Linked DNA regions of Homo sapiens: all the other regions are linked to region 1. Evidence: promoter capture Hi-C in 16 types of primary human blood cells and fetal thymus (Javierre and others, 2016). All regions are on one chromosome and are shown on one strand. The core of a region is centred on a gene start or on the middle of the fragment in contact, and the rest is flanking DNA. Distances in the headings are between cores, read along the strand shown. Region 1 holds the start of TRAPPC6B (trafficking protein particle complex subunit 6B). Region 2 overlaps KLHL28 (kelch like family member 28). Region 3 has its middle 3.7 kb from the start of PRPF39-DT. Region 4 overlaps TOGARAM1 (TOG array regulator of axonemal microtubules 1).

Region 1 (2,905 bases), core at 327-2,826:
AAAGGCTTAAGTGGAGCTTTTATGCTGGATTTACGTGATGAATGGAATAAACTGATTCAAACATTAGAAGGGACATGCTTAAAAAAAAAACCTACCACAATTAAAATTTTGGAACATGATCTTAAATTCCTGTGAAAGGGCATGAAGAGTTTGTGTGTGTGTTTCGTTTTTTGAGACGAAGTCTTGCTCTGTCGCCCAGGCTGGAGTGCAGTGGCACAATTTCTGCTCGCTGCAACCTCTGCCTCCCAGGTTCAAGTGATTCTCCTGCCTCAGCCCCCCGAGTAGCTGGGATTACAGGCACCTGTCACCACGCCCGGCTAATTTTTGTATTTTTAGTGGAGACGGGTTTTCACCATGTTGGCCAGGCTGCTCTCAAAACTCATGACCTCGTGATCCCCCCCACCCCCCGTGCCTCGGCCTCCCAAAGTGCTGGATTTTACAGGCATGAGCCACCTTGCGGTATGTTAATTTGGGGGAAAACAACAGGGACAATTGGGGAAAAATTTTGTTTTGTGAATTACCAATGGAAGAACTAATCACAGGCTAAGCAACATGCTTACGGTTGAATTTGCCAAATTTAAGATGTACATACTATGATGTAGCATGTGTATTTATTTGCACATGCAGTGGGACAATTCCTACAGTTGTCTCACACTGCTGTAGATTATTAGCAACTCCATCCTGCAGTGACATCGCTTTTCTGAATTCTATAGCACTTTTCACCTAATCCTCTGATTAGTCTGTATTTTCCGGTTCAAGTGTATCTTGTTTTTCGTTTGCTCCACTTCCCTTGTCCCTTGCACCCCACTAACAGGAAAATTCCTGGTGGTCAAAATGGCTCTAATTCTTTTTGTATACCCGGGCTTAATTCAATAGGAATTGGGATAACTTTTCAATATTTAAAAAATTTGCACTGTGAAAACGTATATTTTAAACTCTTTCTACAACTTTTCATATTTGAAGAACATATGGCAGGAAGTGGATGCTTTTGATGAAGCCAAAAGAATTTTTTTAACTTCTATTGCTAATTAACAAGGAGGTGGCCGCGGGAGCTCTTTTTTTTTTTTTTTTTTTGAGACGGAGTTTCACTCTTGTTGCCCAGGCTGGAGTGCAGTGGCGCGATCTCAGCTCACCGCAACCTCCGCCTCCCGAGTTCAAGCGATTCTCCTGCCTCAGACTCCCGAGTAGCTGGGATTACAGGCATGCACCACCAGGCCCCGCTAATTTTGTACTTATAGTAGAGACGGGGTTTCTCAGGCTGGTTCGAACTTCCGACCTCATGTGATCCACCCGCCTCCGCCACCCAAAGTGCTGGGATTACAGGCGTGAGCCACCGCGCCCGGGCCAGGCGGGAGCTTTAGGTCTTATTTTATCTTGCTCTGCCCCCGACATCGTGGTGAGAGGGGAACCTTCCTCATATCTGGGCGCTGGCCTCTCCGGGCTTGGGAGAGAGGAACTCAGTGATCATAGAGCTGGCCGAATGCCGGGGTAGAGGGGACCGGAAGTTGTTTTTTTCGCCCCCGCCCAGCGGCCGGATCGCATCTCAGCTGGTTGGCTTTGGTTAGAGCTCCCGTCAGACTTTAGTTCGGCCCTAGGATTTGGTAGCCCCGAAGTGTGGGCTCTCTCCAGTACCAGACTCATTTCAGTACCAGCCTTTGGGAAGTCGTGTGAATACCTCGGTCTCTTAGCCACAGGGATAGAATGGCGGCCTGACGGAGCCGCGGCGCCGGCGAAGTCGCTGAGGCGCGAGCTGGAACCCCCAGACCAGCTCAAACGGGAGCCAAAACTCGAAGCTTGGAAGAATTAGCAGGAAATGGCGGATGAGGCGTTGTTTTTGCTTCTCCATAACGAGATGGTGTCTGGAGTGTACAAGTCCGCGGAGCAGGGGGAGGTGGTGAGTGCTGCCACACAACCTTGAGGTCCTTTTGCGGTGACACACCTTGTTTCCCCTCAGTGCTTTCCTTCAACCCCTGTCCCATCGCCACCCGACGCCTCCCGAGGTGTACACAAAATGGTCCACCTCCAGGTGTCCTAAACCCTAGAACCTGTCAGTTGTCTCCTTTGAACCGTCATCTTTCATCGTTTTCTCTTTCGTATCTTCTTCTATTTGATTCTCTTTTGTCTATTCCCGTACGTTTGTCTTGCACGCCACAGATTTTGGTACTTTTAGTGTTGTCCCTGCCATTATTTACGAGAGGGTTAACTGCAGAGCCTACTTAGTTTTGCTGGCACTTCCAGCACTTGAGCCATGCACTGGACAGACCTGTGCCAACCTGAGAAGCCTGTCCCTCCTTCCTCATTCCTAATGCTCAGTACAACTCCACACAACTTGAGACCTGAAGCCTAATGAAGGTTGAGTTTGCAAAGGAAAGTTTGCAGGCGTTAGGATAATTAGGGAACATAATTTAAATTAATTATTTCAGAAAGTATTTATTTAGTGCCCTTATGTCAGAGCGATTTCTAGGTGCCAGGGATATAGTAGTGAATGAAACAATGGCCCCATCCTTGTAGAGATTTTTTTTTAATCTAATTTAATCCGAAATGTGATAGTATGTAGCGGTTACTTCTAATATGTGGGAGTCCTTATTCAATCATTGTGGGCCTGTCACTGCTGACACTGCTAGATAAATTAAATAAAATAATACTCCTGCCTCACAGTATTTAGGGAATAGTGATTTAATGAATAGTTAACACTGAGTATTGGCTGGTAGAATCATGGAGTTGTAACGGATTTTAGAAATACTCCAAAGTCATGCTCAAGTCAGGAGCCCTTTCTTTAATGCTATTGATAAAAAATGAGTGGAGAGTGGGGATAGGAAATGTATCCTAGGCAAAGATAAAGTGGTAGAGGTATGAAAGAGTGGTGGATTTAAATACACTTAAGCATTTCTTTGGACTAGACTGA
Region 2 (2,799 bases), core at 31-2,530, 5.8 Mb before region 1:
AAACGTTTCTCTTTTCCCTCGCAGAGATTCCACCTTTATCATATACTAAACCTGCATATCTAAATGATCTACTTTTATATTTTCTGTTCTCCATTGATCTATTTTTCCTTACATACGTCTCATTTAATCCTGTTAATCCACAACAAATTTTACAAATGAGAATGTTTAAGCTTAGAATAAGTAATTTGCCCAAGTATCAAATAGCCCAGCTATTAAGTAGCAAAATGTAGACTTAAATCCAAATCTGTCCGACTCTAAAATTAATGCTTTTACTCCCTGTTCTTTCCTGTGTTTGTTTTTTTTTTTTTTATGGTACTTACCCTTCCTTTTACGCAAAGTGGTTACTGAGGTAAATGAAACTGCCAGTGTAAAACTGTTTGACAAATGTGGGGCTTTGAGGATTAGAAAGTATTACTTCTTTGAATTACTTTTTTTAGCCATTTATGGGTAGATAGCTGAGAACCAAATATAGTCACAGTTGCCATGTATAATTTTGAAGGCATTATAGTTTTTGAGCCAAACGCAGTGGTGGACACCTGTAGTCCCAGCTACTGATGAGGCTGAGGCAAGTAGGTCACTTGAGCCTAGGAGTTTGAGGTTGCATTGTGCCATGATCATGCCTTTGAGTGGCCATTGCACTCCAGCCTGGGCAACATAGTGAGATCCTGTCTCTAAAAAACTTTCATTTTAAATATTTCTTAAAAATAATTTTCAGTAATTTTTAAGCTGCTAAACTTGAGCTATAAATATTTTAACTGGTTCTGGAACTTTTGCCTAAGAATAACCTGGAGGACTTAAAACACAGTTTGCCCATTTCCTGCAACCCCACTGCCCTATGTAGTTTCTGATTGCTTACAACTGTGATGGGGCTCAAGAATTTACATTTCTAGCAGGTTCCCAAATGTTGCTAATGCTGTTGGTACAAGGATCAGATTTGAAAACCACTGTTTTAAAAACTCTATATTTGAAAATGTTAGAATTCTGTGCATTTTTCTAAAGTCATATTTTTTGAGAGAGGAAAGGGGCCAAATTAAAAATTTTAAGATTTAATTTGGTCATGCTCAGTGGCTCACACCTGTAATCCCAACACTTTAGGAGTCCAGGGTGGGTGATCGTTTGAGTCCAGGAGTTCGAGACTAGCCTAGGCAACATGGTGAAACTCCTTCTCTACAAAAAAAATACAAAAACTAGTCGGGCGTGGTGATGTGTGCCTGTAGCCCCAGCTACTTGGGAGGCTGAAGTGGGAGAATCACCTGAGCCCAGGAGGTCAAGGCTGCAGTGAGTAAGCTAAGATCTCGCCACCACACCCTGGCCAGGGCAACAGGAATGAGAACCTGTCTGAAAAACAAAAACAAAAACAAAACAAAAAAATTATGTTATGGAAAACTGCTAGTGTAATTCATTTTAAGTTCCCTATTTTTACCTTGCCTTGTTGAAGTTGCTAGTTGACACTGTTTTGATTAAGCATTCAAACTATAATTTTTAAAATTAAACTTTATTCTCAGTAGTTCTTACAAGGAATGAAAGTATATCATTTGCATCTAATACAATTATAAAAATATGCTAGGCTTTCTTTTATGAAGTTACTTTTACCAGTGCCTTTTCTTTGGCCCATTTTAAACACTTTGATAATTTCTATTATTATGGAGTAAAATGAACCATGCTGGTTCAAATGAATAGAATGTCTTACTTACTAGTTGGAATGGTCAGAAAATATTTAAAAGGTTTTAACAACATAGATCTAGGAAAGTGAGATAAAGCAGTATTATAGGGGCATAAGTATAGGGGAACAACTTTGTCATGGTACTCTGGTCACCTTGCATGTATCCATGTAGGCAAAGACTTGGACCTCAGGACTGCAGCTTATCCGTGGCTTGACACACCTTGTGATTCTCCTGGAATATGAGAGAGTGAGAGGCCTCTAAGGAGCTGCTATGAGGTCATCTCCCAATTTTCCACTCACCTCTCTATTTCCCCTACAAGTGTGTCATGAGACAGTTTCTCTTCACTTCCCTGGTTGTGATTAGGTGTTAGACTTTTGACCCCATCCCACACCCTTAGAATAGAGCTACAGAATAGAAAACTGCTTAGCCATAGTTTTCATGGGGCCAGCCCCTTTTTTGTGTTACCATTTTTGATGTGCGGGACAAGGATCCAGGCAGTTTACTCTTTGGCTAATCTTCTTTTCAATCTGTAAGTAATAAACTATCTAAATCTAATAAGCCATCTATATTTTAAAATGGCTCATATGTCTCTTTACTGATAGAATTAGTGAGGCTTTGGCCTGGCTTTGGTAGGTATTTGTTCCCTGGACAGTAAGCAAACTTCCTTCCTTTTTTGGTATGCATGGAAAGGCATTTCATGGATATAGTTGGCAATAACCAAGCTTTTTAAAGGTTGATGAACAGTAAAAATAAATAACGTCTACCAATTACTGAGTGCTTATGTACCAGCACATAGAAAGGCATATTTACAACTGCTTTTTATACAATTTTGTCTATTTTTTTACAAATGAGAAAACTGAAACTTTTGACTGAATTTCCCAAGGTCACATAATACAGACCATTGTATTGTAACCCGGGAAGCCTGGTACCAAAGCCCAGTCTCTTAAAACTATACTGCATATCATACAAATATATGCATGTGTGTATATTTATGTGTTGTGTGTGTACATACATGTATGTGTGTATTTACAGACCTATGTTGTGTCATTTTTGCGTGTCATATGTTGATGGTGTACCAGTTTTGAATTGGGTACACAAAAATTAGGTTAACAATATAGGATCTATCACTATGTGA
Region 3 (2,700 bases), core at 9-2,508, 5.9 Mb before region 1:
GATATTATACCAAATAATGTAGTTTAGAGGGTAGTGGTGTGTCCAGAATTGGTGGGTTCTTGGTCTCACTGACTTCAAGAATGAAGCCGCGGACCCTCGCGGTGAGTGTTGCAGCTCTTAAGGTGGCGTGTCTGGACTTGTTCATTCCTCCCGGTGGGCCCGTGGTCTCGCTGGCTTCAGGAGTGAGGCTGCACACCTTTGCAGTGAGTATTACAGCTCATAAAAGCAGTGTGGACCCAAAGAGTGAGCAGTAGCAAGATTTATTGCAAAGAGCAAAAGAACAAAGCTTCCACAGTGTGGAAGGGGACCCAATCAGGTTGCCACTACTGGCCCAGGCGACCTGCTTTTTATTCTCTTATCTGGCCACACCCACATCCTGCTGATTGGTAGAGCCAAGTGGTCTGTTTTGACAGGGCACTTATTGGTGTGTTTACAATCCCTGAGCTAGACACAAAGGTTCTCCACCTCCCCACTAGATTAGCGAGATACAGAGTGTGGACACAAAGGTTCTTCTCCAAGTCCCCACCAGAGTAGCTAGATACAGAGTGTCGACTGGTGCATTCACAAACCCTGAGTTAGACACAGGGTGCTGATTGGTGTGTTTACAAACCTTGAGCTAGATACAGAGTGCCGATTGGTGTATTTACAATCCCTGAGCTAGACATAAAGGTTCTCCAAGGCCCCACCAGAGTAGCTAGATACAGAGTGTCGATTGGTGCATTCACAAACCCTGAGCTAGACACAGAGTGCTGATTGGTGTATTTACAATCCCTGAGCTAGACATAAAGGTTCTCCAAGTTCCCACCAGACTCAGGAGCCCAGCTGGCTTCACCCAGTGGATCCCGCTCTGGGGCTGCAGGTGGAGCTGCCCGCCAGTCCCGCGCCCTGCGCCCGCACTCCTCAGCCGACGGGTGGTCGATGGGACTGGGCGCCGTGGAGCAGGGGGCGTCGCTCATCTGGGAGGCTCGGCCGCACAGGAGCCCAGGAAGGGGGTGGGAGGCTCAGGCATGGCGGGCTGCAGGTCCTGAGCCCTGCCCCGAGGGAAGGCAGCTAAGGCCCGGCGAGAAATCGAGCGCAGCGCCGGTGGGCTGGCACTGCTGGGGAACCCAGTACACCCTCCGCAGCCGCTGGCCCAGGTGCTAAGCCCCTCATTGCCCGGGGCCGGCAGGGCCGGTCGGCTGCTCCGAGTGCGGGGCCCGCCAAGCCCACGCCCACCCGGAACTCCAGCTGGCCCGCAAGCGCCGGGCGCAGCCCCGCTTCCCGCTGGCTCCTCTCCCTCTGCACCTCCCTGCAAGCTGAGAGAGCCGGCTCCGGCCTTGGCCAGTCCAGAAAGGGGCTCCCACAGTGCAGCGGTGGGCTGAAGGGCTCCTCAAGTGCCGCCAAAGTGGGAGCCCAGGCAGAGGAGGCGCCGAGAGCGAGCGAGGGCTGTGAGGACTGCCAGCACGCTGTCACCTCTCAGTGGGTTCTAAAAAACAATATTTAAAGTCATGTGATCTCAGAAACAGAACAAAGAAGTCAGACAAATGGGAAATGATATTATTTATTAATGCAGTTCTTCCATTTGCCCCTCCAGATCAACAGATCATCCACCCTGCTCCATTATTTGGAGATTGACCCTTATAGACCGTATCAATAGGTTCTCTTGCTTCCTGGTTTCTGGTTGAGTATGGCCAAGAAAAAGTCCTGGCAGAGTGGAATTGAGGAGTGAGGTCAGGGTATTTATTCCTCCAGCTCCCTCCATGTGGGTGATCTCAGCTCTGATGAAGGTAACCCTCTCAATATAACTTCATTCTAGGTTCCAGGTTTCCCTAAGCCATGCCTTTATAAATACTCCCTTATTAACCACTTCCCAAATTATGCCGATTTTGATTTGCTGTCTATTTCCTTCTGGGTCCTGATTGATATAAGAGCAAAATGTATCTTGTGATACCCAGTGTTAATCACAATTTCTGAGCTGTTCAGTATGATTCCTGTTTATTCTCTTCAAAACGTTAACATGCCATGAAAAAGTGCGTAAAATACTTTGTGGATCATTTAATTTACAGAATATATTGCTCTAGGGAATGAACTTTGTTTACATTATAAATAATCCATCACTAAATAAATTGTGGTGACTCTTCTGTTGGAAACATTCAGACTCCTGTATTTAGTGTTTCTCCTTACTGGTAAAGCAAGTAAAGTTAAAACTGTAGCTCCAGGAGATTTAAATCCAAACACAACATGAAGCTTGTTTCCTCTTTACTATTTGGTCTTTCATATTTAGTTCAAATGGTATTAATATCTCCTCAATTCAGTCTTCCTGAGAGTTATCATTGTTACTCCTGTTTCCGGATAACCTTAAAGAAGAGCGCCATAGTAATACCACTCTGCACATTCCTCTTATTCCCTCAGAGACTTATGGCTACTTATTAGGGTAACTTCACACCAGGAAACAGAAAACATGCTGGCTTCTTGGAATTTATTAAACATTGGACCTGAATTAATACCAATTCCTGGGGCATAGAATGCCACTGTGTTTCATCAGAGTGGGGCTTATGGAATATGGCAGATGTTGTAGGTCAGCTTAGAAATATCCATGCCCACTATCTTCTCTATTATCTTCCTGTACTATTGAGACTGGGAAACGAAATACTCAATTTCCTAGCCTCCTTTGAACCTAAGGGTGGCCAATGAGATGTAGGTAGAAGTACATAGGAAGGG
Region 4 (2,710 bases), core at 4-2,503, 5.8 Mb before region 1:
CTGTCCCAAATCTCATTTCAAATTGTAATCCTCAATGTTGAAAGAGGGGTTGCTGGGGGATGACTGGATCATGGGGTTGGATATCCCCTTTCCTGTTCTCATAATAGTGAGTTATCAAGAGATCTGGTTGTTTAAAAGTGTGTAGCATCTCCTCCTGCCCTCTCTTCCTCCTTCTCCGGCCATGTAAGACGTGACTCCTTCCTCTTCACTTTCTGCCATAATTGTAAATTTCCGAGGTCTACCCAGCCATGAGGAACTATGAGTCAATGAAGTCTCTTTTCTTTATAAATTACCTTGTCTCAGTTCTTTACAGCAATGTGAGAACAGAATACAGATGGAAAACCCCAACATACTTGTAGACTAAATACACTTCTAAGTTACATACAAGTCAAAGAAATCTCAAGTGAAATTTTTAAATATTTTGAAATAAATGAAAATACAATGTATCAAGATTTGCGGTATGCAGTGAAAGCGGTGCCTAGAGGAAATTTATGGCACTGAAGGCATATATTAGAAAAGAAGAAAGATCTAAAATCGATCATCTAAGTGCACATCCTAGGAAACTAACAAAGGAAGAGCAAATTAAATCCAAAGTGAGCAGGAGAAAAATAAAAAATAAAAAATTTGCATAGAAATCAGTGAAACTGAAAAAAGGAAATCAACAGAAAATCAACAAAAACAAACTCGGGTTCTTGGAAAAGATCAATAAAATTGATAAGCTTCTGGTCAGGCTAAGAAAAACAGAGAAACAAATTACTAATATCAGAAATGAAAGACAGACTATCACTACAAATCACATAAACATTAAAAGGATAATAAAGGAATACTATTAACAACTCTATGCTTATAAATTGGGTAACCTAGATAAAATGGATCAATTCCTTGAAAGACACAATGTGTAAAAACACACACAAGAAGATATGGATAATCTGACTAGGCCTGTATCTGTAAAGAAACTGAATAATTAATAACCTTCCAAAACAGAAAGCACCAGAGTCAGATGGGTTTACTGGTGGATTCCACTGAACATTTAAAGAAAAAATTATACCAATTCTCTGCAATTACCTTCAGAATATAGAAGCAGGGAGAATACTTTCTGACTCATTCTAAAAGGCCAGCACTACCCTAATACCAAAACCAGCAAAGACCTTATAAGAAAAAAAACAAAAACAAAACAAAACAAAAACCCCACAGACCAATATCACCTATGAACAAACATGTGAAAATCCTCAACAAAATATTAGTAAATTGAATCCAACAATATACAAAATGAATAACACACCACAACCAAGTGGAATTTATCCCAGGTATGCAAGGCTGGCTCAACATTTGAAAATCAATTAATATAACCCATCACATCATCAGGTTTAAGAAGAAAAATCACATAATTATATCAATAGATGCAAAAAAGCATTAGACAAAATCTAATATCCATATATGATGAAAACTCTCAGCAAACTAGGAATACAGGGGGAACTTTCTCAACTTTATAGCGAACACTACAAGAAAGCATACAGATAACATCATATTTATGAGAAACTCAAAACTTTCCCACTAAGATTAGAAACAAGGCAAGGATGTCCTCTCTCATCACTGCTTTTCAATATCATATTGGAAGTTCAAACTAATGCAATAAGACAAGAAAAGGAATAAAAAGTATACAGATTGGGAAGAAATAAAATTGTCTTTGTTCACAGATGACATGATTGTCTGCATAGAAAGTCTCAAAGAATTAACAAAAAAAATCCTCCTGCGAATAATAAATGATTATATTATAGCAAGCTTGCAGGACACAAAGTTAATGTGCAAAAGTCAAGCATTTTCCTCTATACCAGCAATGAACAAGTGGAATTTGAAATTTAAAAAAAATTACCATTTACATTAACATACAGAAGTAGGATATTTCAATCTAAATTTAGCAAAATATGTACAGTATCTATATGAGGAAAGTATAGAACTCCAATGCAAGATATCAAAGAAGAGCTAAATAAATGAAGAGATAATCCATGTTTGTGGATAGGAAGACTCAATATTGTCAAGCTGTTAGTTTTTCTCAACTTGATCTATAGATTCAATGCAATCCCAATCAAACTCTCAGCAACTTATTTTTTGGACATCAACAAACTGATTCTAAAGTTTATACAGAGAGGCAAAAAACCCAGAAGAGTGAACTCAACATGGAAGGAAAACAACAAAGTCAGAAGACTGACACTACGGAACTTCAAGATTTACTATAAAGCTACAGTAATCAAGACAATGTGTTATGGGCAAAAATAGGCACACTAATGGAGCAGAGTAAAGAGCCCAGAAAAAGACCCACATGAATACAGTCAGCTGATCTTTGACAAAGAAGTAAAGGCAATGGAGTAAAGACAGTGTTGTCAACAAATGGTGCTGCAACAACTGAACATGCACATGTAAAAAAAAATGAATCTAGAAACAGACCTGACACCCTTCATAAAAATTAACTCCAAATGGATCATAGACTTAAATGTAAATTGTAAAACTATAAAATGCCTAGAAGATAACATAGGAGAAAACCTAGATGACCTTGGGTATGGTGATGACTTTTTAGATATGATACCAAAGGCATGATCCATGCAAGAAAAAACTGATTAACTGGACTTTATTAAAACTTTAAAACTTCTGCTCTGAGAAAGTTAATGTCAAGAGAATGAGAAGACAAGACACAAAGTGGGAGAAAATATTT

Evidence for each region. Contacts are between HindIII fragments. The CHiCAGO score rates a contact against its expected background, and 5 or more counts as called.
Region 2: a fragment that was not itself captured here is called in contact with the fragment with the promoter of TRAPPC6B in region 1 in 7 of 17 cell types (total CD8 T cells, non-activated CD4 T cells, total B cells and 4 more); the score reaches 13.1 in total CD8 T cells.
Region 3: a contact is called between a fragment that was not itself captured here and the fragment with the promoter of TRAPPC6B in region 1, in 1 of 17 cell types (non-activated CD4 T cells). The highest score is 5.0, in non-activated CD4 T cells.
Region 4: a fragment that was not itself captured here is called in contact with the fragment with the promoter of TRAPPC6B in region 1 in 4 of 17 cell types (M0 macrophages, non-activated CD4 T cells, total B cells and 1 more); the score reaches 12.7 in M0 macrophages.

The regions. Positions count from the first base shown.
Region 1 is chr14:39,169,004-39,171,908 of GRCh38, reverse strand. TRAPPC6B (trafficking protein particle complex subunit 6B) reads left to right here and starts at 1,576. Exons shown (of 6, transcript NM_001079537.2): 1 at 1,576-1,894. The coding sequence starts at 1,814. RefSeq lists enhancers at 349-938, 1,720-1,769, 1,529-2,118. The HindIII fragment of the contact is 6,900 bases long and covers 1-1,795 here.
Region 2 is chr14:44,950,414-44,953,212 of GRCh38, reverse strand. The region is part of intron 1 of KLHL28 (kelch like family member 28); the gene reads left to right. Among named protein-coding and RNA genes, the nearest start is that of KLHL28, 10 kb to the left of the region's middle. The HindIII fragment of the contact is 2,216 bases long and covers 173-2,388 here.
Region 3 is chr14:45,079,012-45,081,711 of GRCh38, reverse strand. No RefSeq gene overlaps it. Among named protein-coding and RNA genes, the nearest start is that of PRPF39-DT, 3.7 kb to the left of the region's middle. The HindIII fragment of the contact is 1,940 bases long and covers 289-2,228 here.
Region 4 is chr14:44,969,471-44,972,180 of GRCh38, reverse strand. All of the region lies in intron 1 of TOGARAM1 (TOG array regulator of axonemal microtubules 1), which reads right to left. Among named protein-coding and RNA genes, the nearest start is that of TOGARAM1, 8.6 kb to the right of the region's middle. The HindIII fragment of the contact is 1,063 bases long and covers 722-1,784 here.